Regions from separate parts of the Homo sapiens genome. Here regions 2 and 3 are each linked to region 1. Evidence: promoter capture Hi-C in human tissues and cell types (Jung and others, 2019). All regions are on one chromosome and are shown on one strand. Each heading gives the region's core, a stretch centred on a gene start or on the middle of the fragment in contact. The rest is flanking DNA. Distances are from core to core; before and after follow the strand shown. Region 1 holds the start of HSPA4L (heat shock protein family A (Hsp70) member 4 like). Region 2 overlaps MFSD8 (major facilitator superfamily domain containing 8). Region 3 overlaps INTU (inturned planar cell polarity protein).

Region 1 (4,244 bases), core at 1,006-3,505:
AGAAATAGAAATGAAGAAATTCATTATTTCCCAGGCCATATTGTTCTATACACAGAAAATCCAAGAAATTCTGCAAATACTTGAATTTAGAATACAGCAAGGTTGCTGGATACATGACCAATGTACATGAATCAGGATCATTCAGCAGCTAAGCATAGCTAGCATTTATTGACCGTTTGGTGCCAGGGACTGATGCAGTGCTTACATTATTTAATCATAAAAACAGCCCAGTAGGCATATTTGTCCTCATTTTAACAGACTGAACCTGTGGCTTGGAGCATTAAGTAACTTGCCAAACGTTATACAGGTAGTAAGTTAGGCAAGCCTGGTACTACAACCCAAATCTGTGTGACCCCAAAGCCCGTCATGGTTTTAACCACTGGGTACTCTCACGTCCTGCCAGTAATTGTAAGGAACGTGATGATAACACCACTTTGCTCCTGGCCTCAACTTCCTTTTTACTTTGATATTTTAAGTGGTATTTTTAATAGGAAAAAAAAAAAACATTCTTACACCCTCAAGTTGTATAGACAACATGGATAAACTAATGGAATTAAGATAAATTAATTGTACTAGGAGAATTTCAGGATATTCTGGAATAAATCTAGATAGTGATGGCCGATGTCAGAAGAGGTGTGTGAGGAGAACTGGTGGAAGTCACAGGCGCCCAGCAGGACCAGGGCCCAGGGTTCAGTCGCAGGGCAACGCCCAATCCCTGTTCTGCTCACGAGCTGCCCGCTGGGACGCCGAGTTCTGCGGTGTCTCAGAGCGCAGCTTCACCCAGGGGCTCCACGTCTCCTGAGTGCTCATGAAGGGAAGAGAGGCCTGATTGATTTCTTCAATGTAGAGACCAGAGCCCAAGCAATACTGTACAATCCAGTTGCCTCAGTATTGCCCTTGAAAATGGATTTCACGTTCATTCTAACAGCAGCAGGAACTATAGCCACCCTTGCTGCTGCTGCTGCTGTAGCAACATTATTAATAGTAAAAAATCTAAGTTATTTAAAGAAGTGGACAACTAGGGATAATCAGAATACTAAAGAATCTAGTAAACAAAACAAACAAACAAAAAAACACGCCTGTTTTCAAGATGGATACCAAAATGGAACAGGAAAACACACAAAGAATTGGATGAGAAGGAACAGAGACTAGATGAAGAGGACGGGGAGGAACAGGGAACAGACCAAGGACTGGCAGAGAAGGAACAGGGCACACACGTAAAAGTGAACGAAAAGCAACAAGACAGCCAAATTTCTTAAGTGTAACATAAAACTTGGTTAATTACAGACAGGCAACACATGCCGATCAAACCAAGAGGGAGGGCGCTGGACCACACTGGGCTCTTTTTTGAGGACCACAGGGCAGCGGCTGGAGGCTAAAGCACAGACTTGGCTGGTGTGAGTGGCACACTTAATTAAGGTCACTTTCCTGTAAAACTGGTTTCCAGAGACAAGGGTCAGCGGCGGGGCCAGCATCTTTTAGAAAGGTGTGAGGAAAGGTACGTGGAGGGAAAGTTGTCAGTGTGATCTTATTTCTTGACAGAAGTTTGACTTTTGATATTTCAAATCCTGCTGATGAAAAAAGAAAAAAACCTAACATGTGCTCATCCCGCTTTCGCACAAGAGTCTGTCCCGGGCTCGGCAGCTCCCCCGGGGCTGGACAGGGCGGAGCGGCGGACGTCGGACAATGCGCGCCACCTCACAGAGCCGGGCGCGGCGGGCCTCCAGCCACAAGGGGAGGGCGCCGGGCTGCACATGGGCCCCTCGGGGAGGCGAGGCCTGCGGGCGAGCCCTTCTGAGGGCAGGGGGTGAGGGGGCGGCGCCCGCCAGCCAGGACAGCATCCTGCCGCCGTGACAAGCACGCCTCCGGTTGCCAAAACAACCCAAAAATGTGCCTCAAAACACGTTCGCAAAGCCCCGGGCCGGCCGGTCGCCTGCCTCTCACCTAGCCCGACCGCCCGACGTCCTACTGCCGAGCGAGGGCGAGCAAGCCAATGTGCCTAGCCTCCTTTCCCCGATCCTCCCCGCCCCGCCTTCCCGCTTCTCCCGCCCCCGGATAGCTCAGCAGCCTCCATTTTCCAGATCTTTCTCGAACCCGCAGCTTCTTGGGCAGCCGTTGCCCGAGTGCTGACGGAAGCGGCCGAAGTCCGGGCCCGGAGCTGGCTCGGGCGCGGAGCGGAGGCTCGCGCGCCTCCCGGGCAGCCGAGCGCGCAGGCGCAGGTCCCAGTAACCGCCGGTTGGAGGCGGCCGAACCGCAGTAGGGAAAGACCCAGGCTGCGGGACGCGGTGCAGGCTGCGGCGCTGACGGCCTCTGCTCCTTCCGCGGGTTTCCGACTCCCTGCCCTAGATTTTCTGCTTAGCGACTTGGGGTCCCCTCTCGTTTGCTTCTGGTAGGAGTCGCAATCCCAGCAGCAATAGCCCAGAAGAGGACACGGTTCCCGTACCGAAGGGTTCAGTACCAGCAGCCCGACCATCACGCGGCGGGATGTCTGTGGTTGGCATTGACCTCGGCTTTCTCAACTGCTACATTGCTGTCGCGAGAAGTGGCGGCATCGAGACCATCGCCAATGAGTACAGCGACAGGTGTACCCCGTAAGTGCCTCTGCTGAGCATCACCTCGACCCTAAGAAACGTTTTTCTCTCCCGTCCTTAACGTTTGTCCTGTCTGCTCGCTTCCTCGGATTTTCCCCTAACGTGCGCCGAACCCCGAGATGACAGGTGCAACCCGTCAACCGCAGTCCCTAGAGACCGCCGGGTGGCAGTCGGACTTCCTCGCCCCGCAAAGCTTCTTTTCCTTCAAGGACGAGGGACCGCACTAGTTTGCGCAGCTCTCTTTTCTGTACCTACGCACGTCCCCTGCCTCGTGCCGCTGTCCCCCAACGCCTCTTTTGCTTGCGAGGAAGAGGTTGCTGTGGGACAGCCCCTGGCGTCCGGAATATTGAGAAAGATCTCCGGTTGCCTCTAACGAGGTTTACGTGGGATTATCGGCCCCGCGCCAGCTGCCCTCCTTCCTTTCCCCGTCCCTCTGGGTGACAGCTTTTTCTCAGAAAAGTAAAAAGTCAGCTTCGGCTGCACACGTCAGAGATGAATTGCAGGTTCATCTGGCCCCGAAAGCCTTTTTTTTTTTTTTAAGGGCGGGGAGTGAGGCATGTGGGGTTTTACAAAACCCAGTGCCCTTGAGAACTGCAGGTAATGGAGCCGGTTTACAGGGCCAGGTCAATGGTGCATTGATAGGGAGAGCCTCGGGATGGGAGTCACTGGCCTTGTGCATTGGTAACTACGTCAGTTGCTGGAATGCGGCGGGGTTGGGTCGGACCAAAAGCGTGTTTCTGCAGAGTGAATTGCCGGAGTCGGGGGCAGCTGTCCCGTATAAACATGACTGTGGAGTGATTCTATTATGAACGCTTAATGAAAGGCTTAGGAGGAGCGGCGTTATGTCATGGAAACATGTTTCCACATGTTCCGTTGTTTCTCTGGCCTGGGAAGTTTGTTGGCAAGGAATATAATGAAGTAATTCTGAAATATGAAAAACTAGTTGCTGCTTATAGGCTGCTGTTACTGGTAATTTTATGAGGAAACCAACTGTATGAAACCTATATTACTTTTTATGGAAAGGTAATTTGGCATCTTAATTTGACCGTTCTGAATGGTCCAAAATATAATACCTTAACTATACTAAAACAAGGTCAGTGTCCAATGGTCTTTAAATGCCTCATTTACTATTCTATGGAAAGCTTTAAAATATGGCAAAAAGATGTTGAAGAGTAGCTCACTTGAAGCAGTCTGTGCTTTGATTTCTTTCCAAGAAGATTCTAGAAGGTTTTATACCTTTTTTCGTAGATGTACACGTTTCTTCTATTGAAATTTTAAACGTTTTGGACGTTTATATTTTCAATACATGGGCATAGATAAGGTAATCCTCAATAATGTTTGAACTCTTCTACTTTTTACATCTTTTTCTGGCTTTTATGCACAGTGAGAGGCCGAAACAGTAACTGTGAAGTCGATGAATTCGTCTCTACAAGGTTTTATATTAAGCCACAACAAATACTGGCTTTCGCCAGAAACAGACCGGAAATTCCACTCTCCACCTTCAGCAGAGTAGGGGTTAAAAATGGGAGCAATCTTTGGCTTCATTGACTCTCAACCTATAGAGAAAAAACTGAGAGGTAGGGTGGACATTCTTTTAGTCCTTAAAGCCATATCCTAAAAGATCAGAAACCAGAACAGTAAGAAAGATCGATC
Region 2 (4,244 bases), core at 1,193-3,692, 170 kb after region 1:
TTTTTTTTTTTTTTTGAGACAGAGTCTCGCTATGTCACCAGGCTGGAGTGCAGTGGCGCAATCTCGGCTCATTGCAATCTCCGCCTCCCGGGTTCAAGCAATTCTCACACCTCAGTCTCCAGAGTAGCTGGGATTACAAGCACGTGCCACCACACCCAGCTAATTTTTTGTATTTTTCGTAGAGATGGGGTTTCACCATGTTGGCCAGGATGGTCTCAATCTCCTGACCTTGCAATCCGCCTGCCTCGGCCTCCTAAAATGCTGGGATTACAGGTGTGAGCAACCGCGCCTGGCCTTAGCATTATATTTTCAAGATTCATCCATGGTGTACATGTACATTCCTTATATAAACCCTATTTTAAAACATAATTTAATTATTAGCTTCATTTCAGGCCAGGCACGGTGGCTCATGCCTGTAATCCCAGCACTTTGGGAGGCCTGGGTGGGCGGATCATGAGGTCAGGCTATCGAGCCCATCCTGGCTAACACAGTGAAACCCTGTCTCTACTAAAAATACAAAAAATTATCCGGGTGTAGCGGCATGCATCGTAGTCCCAGCTACTCGGGAGGTTGAGGCAGGAGAATGGCGAGAACCCGGGAGGCGAAGCTTGCAGTGAGCAGAGATTGCGCTACTGCACTCCAGCCTGGGTGACAGAGCAAGACTCTGTCTCAAAAAAAATAAATAAATAAAAATAAATAAATATTAGCTTCATTTTAAAGTATTTTGAATTGACATAGTTACTTTGATCAGTAAAGGACTGAAAGCACCAATTAATCTTTTAAATCAAGGCTACAATTTTGGAGTACAGAAATTTGTAAACAAAATGTTTAACATGCCAATTAAAATCTAAAGTTGGCCAGGCACAGTGGATGATGCCTGTAATCCAAGCACTTTGGGAGACTGCGGCAGGCAGATCATTTGAAGTCAGGAGTTCAAGACCAGCAATGGCAACATGGTGAAACCCCGTCTCTACTAAAAATACAAAAATTAGCTGGGCGTGGTGGCAGGCACCTGTAGTCTCATCTATTCAGGAGGCTGAGGCAGGAGAATCGCTTGAACCCGGGAGGCAGAGGTTGAGGTGAGCTGAGATCGTGCTACTGCACTTCAGCCTGGAAGACAGAGTGAGACTCCACCTCAAAAAAAAAAAAAAAAAAAAAATCTAAAGTTAAAATAATTTTCTTTTTTTGCTGTTGAATTTGAAATTGTTTCTTATAATTTTAGATAATTGAGTACTAAAAACCAGAAGTGTTTAAAATGGAAAAATAAATCAATTGCAGGCATTGCTACCAAAACAGTATCCATTGGCCCCTTCCACCTTCTTGATGGAACCCCAGTTCTATTCAGGTATCCATACTTCCTCAACAAAGCCTCATGGTCTAAGAGAAACTCTCTCCATGTTCGATCCCAGAGGGTACATTCTGATTAGTCTAAAAAATTCAACTGGAGTAATCCCATCATCTTAGTTGATGTTGGTTTAGAAATTTACAGGTCACACCTGTAATCCTAGCACTTTGGGAGGCTGAGGCGGGCGGATCACCTGAGGTCGGGAGTTCAAGACCAGCCTGACCAACATGGAGAAACCCCGTCTCTACTAAAAATACAACATTAGCTGGGCATGGTGCCGCATGCCTGTAATCCCAACTACTTGGAAGGCTGAGGCAGGAGAATCGTTTCAACACGGGAGGCTGAGGTTGCAGTGAGCCAAGATCGTGCCACTGCACTCAGCTCAAAAAAAAAAAAAGAATAAATTACGTTACAGTATAAGCCAACTGATTCAGCACTTTTTCTGATATTTGCACAAGGCATTCTGTTTTTTTTTTTTTTTTTTTTTTTTTTTTGAGACGGAATCTTGCTCTGTGGCCCAGGCTGGAGTGCAGTGGTGTGATCTTGGCTCAGTGCAACCTCTGCCTCCTGGGTTCAAGTGTATTTTTAGTAGAGATGGGGTTTCACCATATTGGCCAGACTGGTCGCAAACTCCTGACCTCGTGATCCGCCCGCCTCAGCCTTGCAAAGTGCTGGGATTACAGGCGTGAGCCACCTTGCCTGGCCCTGCACAAGTCATTCTAACTGATACACAATGCAAGGTGAAAATGTATTATAAAGAATTGTTGAAAATATCCTTTATCATTCACTTTTCTTTTTACCCAGTACTGAATCATGCACAACTTTGGCAAGTGAGAGAAAACAGGATGATTGGGGTAAATAGAAAATATATGGAAAATATATGGAAAGCAATTTAGTAAAATGACCTTCCTTAATTCCTCTCAGGGGAAAGAGACCACTTGTAATATTAGTGCCTATAGATTTAGAGGGTTTCTACTTGGAAAAAAATTCATTTCCTAAAACAGTCCTTTAAAAACTATCACAATATTGATCATTCCTATATATTCTCATCCCATCCTTTTAACATGGTTATAGATGTTTAATATTTTGAAAAGTTTTCCTCATGAAGTTTTACTTTTTAGTAACTACATATTCAGAAATAATGTGAATAGGTTAAAATACATCAAGCAATACAAATTGAGATTCTTGTATTTTACTTTTTGTATGTTTTATCAATATAAAAATAAGTTGAGGTTAGAGGCAACAAAAGATAAAAACAGCCAGGTGTGGGGCTCATGCCTGTAATCCCAGCACTTTGGGAGGCCAAGGCAGGTGGACTACCTGAGGTCAGGAGTTTGAGATCAGCCTGGCAAAAATGGCAAAACCCCGTCTCTACTAAAAATACAAAAATTAGCCAGGTGTGGTGGCACACACCTGCAGTCCCAGCTACCAGGGAGGCTGAGGCACAAGCATAGCTTGAACCCGAAAGCGGGAGGTTGCAGCGAGCCGAGATAGTGCCATTGCACTCCAACTTGGGCAACAAAGCAAGACTCTGTCTCAAAAAGAAAAAAACAGAGAAGGTGGACTACATCAGTATTTAACACTTCTGTGAATGTGAATCACAGGATACATTTAGCACACTGAATAGAAGAGTCCTGGAATGGGAGAAAATATTTACAAATCATATATTGGATAAGGGGCTAACATTCAGAGTATATAAAGAATTCCTACAACTCAACAACAAAAAATCCAACTAATAAATGGGCAATGGTCTTGAACAAACACTTCTCCAAAGAAGATATACAAATGGACAGAAAGCACAAGAAACATGTTCAACATCACTAATCATTAAGAAGATGCAAATCAAAACAAGATACCATCTCATCCACTAGGATGACTACTATCCAAAAGAAAGTTAACGTTGGCAAGGATGTGAAAAAATTGGAACCCTGACTGTTGTTGAGAATGTAAATAAAATGGTACGGCTGCTATGGAAAACAGTATGGCAATTTTCCAAAAAATTAAAAAATTAAAAAGAAAATCATAATATGATCCAGCAATTTCACTTCTGGATATATACCCAAAAGGACTAAAAGCAGGATCTTGAAGAGATATTTGCACACCCATATTGACAGCAGCACTATTCACAACAGCCAAGAGGTGGAAGCAACCCAAATGTCCATCGACAGATAAATGGCTAAACAAAATGTGGTAGGCCAGGCTAGGCTGTAATCCTAGCACTTTGGGAGGCTGAGGCCGGTGGATCACGAGGTCAGGAGTTCAAGACCAGCCTGGCCAAGATGGTGAAACCCCATCTCTACTAAAAATACAAAAATTAGCCGGGCATGGTGGTGGGTGACTGTAATCCCAGCTACCTGGGAGGCTGAGGCAGAGAATTGCTTGAACCCCGCAGGCGGAGGTTTCAGTGAGCCAAGATCACACCACTGCACTCCAGCTTGGACGACAGAGCGAGACTTTGTCTCAAAAAAAAAAAAAAAAAAAATGTGGTATATACTGAAGGCAATCAGAGTATGCTACTCCAAAAATCTGCTGTTTTGCCATATTAATTATCTCAAACTGAAGGCAACCGAGAAATAGCAGATGCAGGAAGGGTTCTCTGCTCTCCCCCTTTCTGCCTGAATGCAGAGAATAGATTGAATTTTGTTTTGTTGTTAATTCTTTGAGGCACAATTGAGATTCTGTTACCTACAATCTGTCTTGGGACATTAAGACACAGGTATAATTAAGACTGTATATTTAAACTTAAGAAATTTTGCACTGGCCAGGCGGGGTGGCTCACGCCTGTAATCCCAGCACTTTGGGAGGCTGAGGCGGGCAGATCATGAGGTCACGAGATCGAGACCATCCTGGCTAACGCCGTGAAACCCCATCTCTACTAAAGATACAAAAAAATTAGCTG
Region 3 (4,244 bases), core at 717-3,216, 130 kb before region 1:
AGGGGTTGAGATTGAAACTCAAAAAAAAATAACAAAATTTATTGTTAGTAAATGCATTGGCAGAAAACATTGAGTTTTGAATGTATAAAATGGCAGTATAGTAACTGCTTTTCAAAAACCAGATTCCCTTTCCCTGAAGTCAAATTTGGCTTAATTAAAAGGATCAATTTCAATTCACAATTTGATCTCATTTTTCTGTCCCATACATATGTGCCACTCCTTCTATCCATAAATCCCCACCTCTAACAAGCAAGCCTGATTTATTTTTTTCCTAACTGACCTCCAGATACACCTTGTGTGTCCATCTTTGCTTTTTAGCATTCGTGATTCCTTTTTTGGTGCATCACAAAGATTGCTTTGTATTACTAGGCTAGTGCATTCATCTTCTATTGCTGCCGTGACAAATTACCACAAACTTAGTGGTTTAAAACAATACAGATTTATCATCTTGCAATAATGTAAGCCAGAAATCTAAAATGGGTCTTCTTGTATGAAAATCAAGGTGTCCACAGGGCTACATTCCTTTTGGAGGCTCCAGGGAAGAATCCCATTCCTTGGCCAGCTTTCAGAGGCTACCTGCATTCTTTGGCTTGTGGTCCTGTCCTCCATCATCAAAGCCAGCAGCATAGCATCTTCCAGTCTCTCTCATGCTGACCCTGACACTTTTGCCTTCCTCCTATAAAGACCTTTATCTTTACCTGACGATCATTCGGATAATCCAGGACAGTCTTCCAATCTTTTAAGTTAATTACAACTGCAAAGTCCTTCTTGCTGTGTAAGGTAGCATATTCAGAGATTTCAGGGATTGAAACATAGACATCTTTGGGGGGCAATTATGCTGCCTACCTCAGTGGGGGGTTTTTTGGTAAAATATGAGTTTTTTTTCTTTTTGTGATAGTAATAATATACGTTCATTGTAGACAATTTAGAAAATACAATTAAGCAAAAAAGAAAAATTCCATATACCCAAAGACAACATTTTGTTATATATCCTCCCTTTTCCTACATTTATATACAATAATCTTTTGTCAAAAATAATTTAAGTTGTATATTCATTTTATATATAGTATAAACACAGCAGTAAACAAACTTTTGCATATATATTTTCATAGCCCTTGGTGCCTTATGTAGTAGCCCTTTAGTACACATGTTGTTTGATGTTAAGTATATACTGAGAAATTGATGGCTTTTCTCACATAATTTAACTTTACATTGAGGAACTGTGATAAACTGATCTCTTTTTAAAATATTTTATTTGGTTCTTAAATATATCTCTTAATAAAAATTTTCTCATATTTCTACCCAGGCCATTTCTTATTTAACAATGCAAATCAATCATATAATTCATTCCCTTTTAGCCTTTGAAATGGGACAGATCATATTAATGACTCCCGTGTACTTATGGAGAAAGACCTTTCCTTGGGTTTAGGATGTCCACTGCAAAGGTGCGATGTCCGGGAAGCCAGCCATCTCTGAGTCACTTCACAGAAGTGTTCAGAAACACTAGAGGAAAACAAATGTCTGGGAGAATGAGAAGTGGATATAATATTTATTTCATAGAATGGGAAAATTTTCTACTAAACATTTAAAAATATTGGGTATACTACACTTGCTTTCAGAATTTATTTTCATATATTTTTATGATGAACCATCTCCTCTTTTTAGAGGTTTGTTAGACTTGATAATTTTAGATAATACTCCCTATAACACTCAGCTACAGGAATGTATTCATTAGGATTTGGAGAAAAAAGTCATTTGGCACATCATCCAATGGAGTTTTAGTTTAAAGTAACAAATTTAAAATGTTTTTACTATTTCTGTGCCCTGAGGATAACAAACTATAGACAACAGAACTAATCATTAGGATAGTCCAAAAGTGGTTTCATTTTACATTGACACAGCTATACTGTGTCCATCATTCCTTTATTTTCTTTTAATCACTACAGCTATAAGTAATTTGATATAGTACTTTTGTTTAATCTCTTATATAGGAGAAATTAAACAGGCATCTTGTTGTGTTTTTTTTTTTCCAAGTGGACTTCAAGTTGAAAGTTTATTTTGGTCTGCAAGTTCTTACTTTTAAGAAAAGTTTGTCCAAAGTGCTGTAATAGTTAACCATCATAATGACTTGGTGCCCATGCTTGCAAAACTCCCATCTGAGTTGTATCTCTTGAGCATCTAAACCTAGTTCAAGCCTTCACAGTTGGCCTAAGAAAGTACTCCTGCTTACTCTGCACTTAACCCCATTCTCATTCAATAGAGTATCAAGGAGAGGAAGGAAAAAAAGGAGGAATAGCAGTACCTACAGTGGCAACATTTTCATCTGTTTGCCAACCCTACAGATGGCCAAGTGATGCCTAATAATGGGTTGCCTTAAAGGAAAGGAACTCTGAACTTAGGGAACACCAATCTTTTATAAAGAACAGTTATTAATAATAAGATATTGAGCACAGCATTGACCTTATTATACCATTCAGTAAACAAGCTTGACCTTTGCTCAGGATGGAAACATATCTCTGTTGTCCAAGGCTGTTCATTACACGAACGTCTTTGAAAAGACAGTCTAGAACAAAGACTCTCAATGCCTCGGCTTGTAAGATGTACAGAAACATGAGACTCATGAAGAATTATCTACCAACACGATTCTACATATACAGGTTGAGTACTCCTTCTTCAAAATACCTGGGACCAGAAGTGCTTCCAATTTTTTTTTTTTTAATATTGCATTATACTTACCTGTTGAGCATCCCAAATCTGACAATCCTAAATCCAAAATGCTCCAATGAGCATTTCCTTTGAGGGTCACGTTGGTGCTCAAAAAGTTTTGGATTTTGGAGGATTTTGGATTTTCAATTTTTGGATTTGGGATACTTAGCCTGTATACATGTTTATTATCCATCTTCCCCAAAGAATATTAAGCTCCCTGAGAGTAGAGATTTTGTCTTTGTTCAATTCTTTGTCTCTAGTGCTTAGAAGAGTGCCTGGCACACATTAAGTGCTCAGTAAATATTTCTTAAATGAATGGATGAATATGAATTATTTCATCAATTTCCTAATAATATATTTAGGAATGATGAGAAAAATAACTTTGGTATGTCTATATTTCTATTAATATAGCTCACTGGTATTTTGATAGTATCTTTAATTATGTTCTGAAAGTGAATTTCCATTTTAACACTGATATTTATTTTATTATCAGATTTGGAAAACATACACATTTCTTTTAAAGTACACGGAAAAGGAAATTTTTACCAAACATGCAGTGTATTTTGATATGGTTGGGGCCTTTGAAGCAAAGAACTGTTTGTAGACATAGATCAATAACAGAAGTGAATACTATAGCATATTGTGTTATGATATGCCACATGGATTTAATTAGAATTTCAGGTGGGTTTTTGTTTTGTTTTGTTTTAATTTTTTAATTTTTTTTATTATACTTTAAGTTTTAGGGTACATGTGCACATTGTGCAGGTTAGTTACATATGTATACATGTGCCATGCTGGTGCGCTGCACCCACTAACTCATCATCTAGCATTAGGTATATCTCCCAATGCTATCCCTCCCCCCTCCCCCCACCCCACCACAGTCCCCAGAGTGTGATGTTCCCCTTCCTGTGTCCATGTGATCTCATTCTTCAATTCCCATCTATGAGTGAGAATATGCAGTGTTTGGTTTTTTGTTCTTGCGATAGTTTACTGAGAATGATTTCCAATTTCACCCATGTCCCTACAAAGCACATGAACTCATCATTTTTTATGGCTGCATAGTATTCCATGGTGTATATGTGCCACATTTTCTTAATCCAGTCTATCATTGTTGGACATTTGGGTTGGTTCCAAGTCTTTGCCATTGTGAATAATGCCGCAATAAACATACGTGTGCATGTGTCTTTATAGCAGCATGATTTATAGTCCTTTGGGTATATACCCAGTAATGGGATGGCTGGGTCAAATGGTATTTCTAGTTCTAGATCCCTGAGGAATCGCCACACTGACTTCCACAATGGTTGAACTAGTTTACAGTCCCACCAACAGTGTAAAAGTGTTCCTATTTCTCCACATCCTGTCCAGCACCTGTTGTTTCCCGGCTTTTTAATGATTGCCATTCTAACTGGTGTGAGATGGTATCTCATTGTGGTTTTGATTTGCATTTCTCTGATGGCCAGTGATGAGCATTTTTTCATGTGTTTTTTGGCTGCATAAATGTCATCTTTTGAGAAGTGTCTGTTCATGTCCTTCTCCCA

Evidence for each region. The method cuts DNA at HindIII sites, captures the fragments that hold promoters and counts their contacts. A contact is called where the count stands out against the background at its distance.
Region 2: a fragment that was not itself captured here is called in contact with the fragment with the promoter of HSPA4L in region 1 in 1 of the 25 tissues and cell types used here (adrenal gland).
Region 3: a fragment that was not itself captured here is called in contact with the fragment with the promoter of HSPA4L in region 1 in 1 of the 25 tissues and cell types used here (heart right ventricle).

Annotation. Positions count from the first base shown.
Region 1 is chr4:127,780,067-127,784,310 of GRCh38, forward strand. It overlaps HSPA4L (heat shock protein family A (Hsp70) member 4 like), which reads left to right and starts at 2,256. Exons shown (of 19, transcript NM_014278.4): 1 at 2,256-2,591. The coding sequence starts at 2,485. RefSeq lists silencers at 1,617-1,786, 2,067-2,136 and enhancers at 2,277-2,426, 2,326-3,318, 2,927-3,006. The HindIII fragment of the contact is 5,760 bases long and covers 1-3,258 here.
Region 2 is chr4:127,951,733-127,955,976 of GRCh38, forward strand. The region is part of intron 2 of MFSD8 (major facilitator superfamily domain containing 8); the gene reads right to left. Among named protein-coding and RNA genes, the nearest start is that of MFSD8, 11 kb to the right of the region's middle. The HindIII fragment of the contact is 5,881 bases long and covers 1-4,244 here.
Region 3 is chr4:127,646,806-127,651,049 of GRCh38, forward strand. The region is part of intron 2 of INTU (inturned planar cell polarity protein); the gene reads left to right. Among named protein-coding and RNA genes, the nearest start is that of INTU, 16 kb to the left of the region's middle. The HindIII fragment of the contact is 4,339 bases long and covers 1-4,136 here.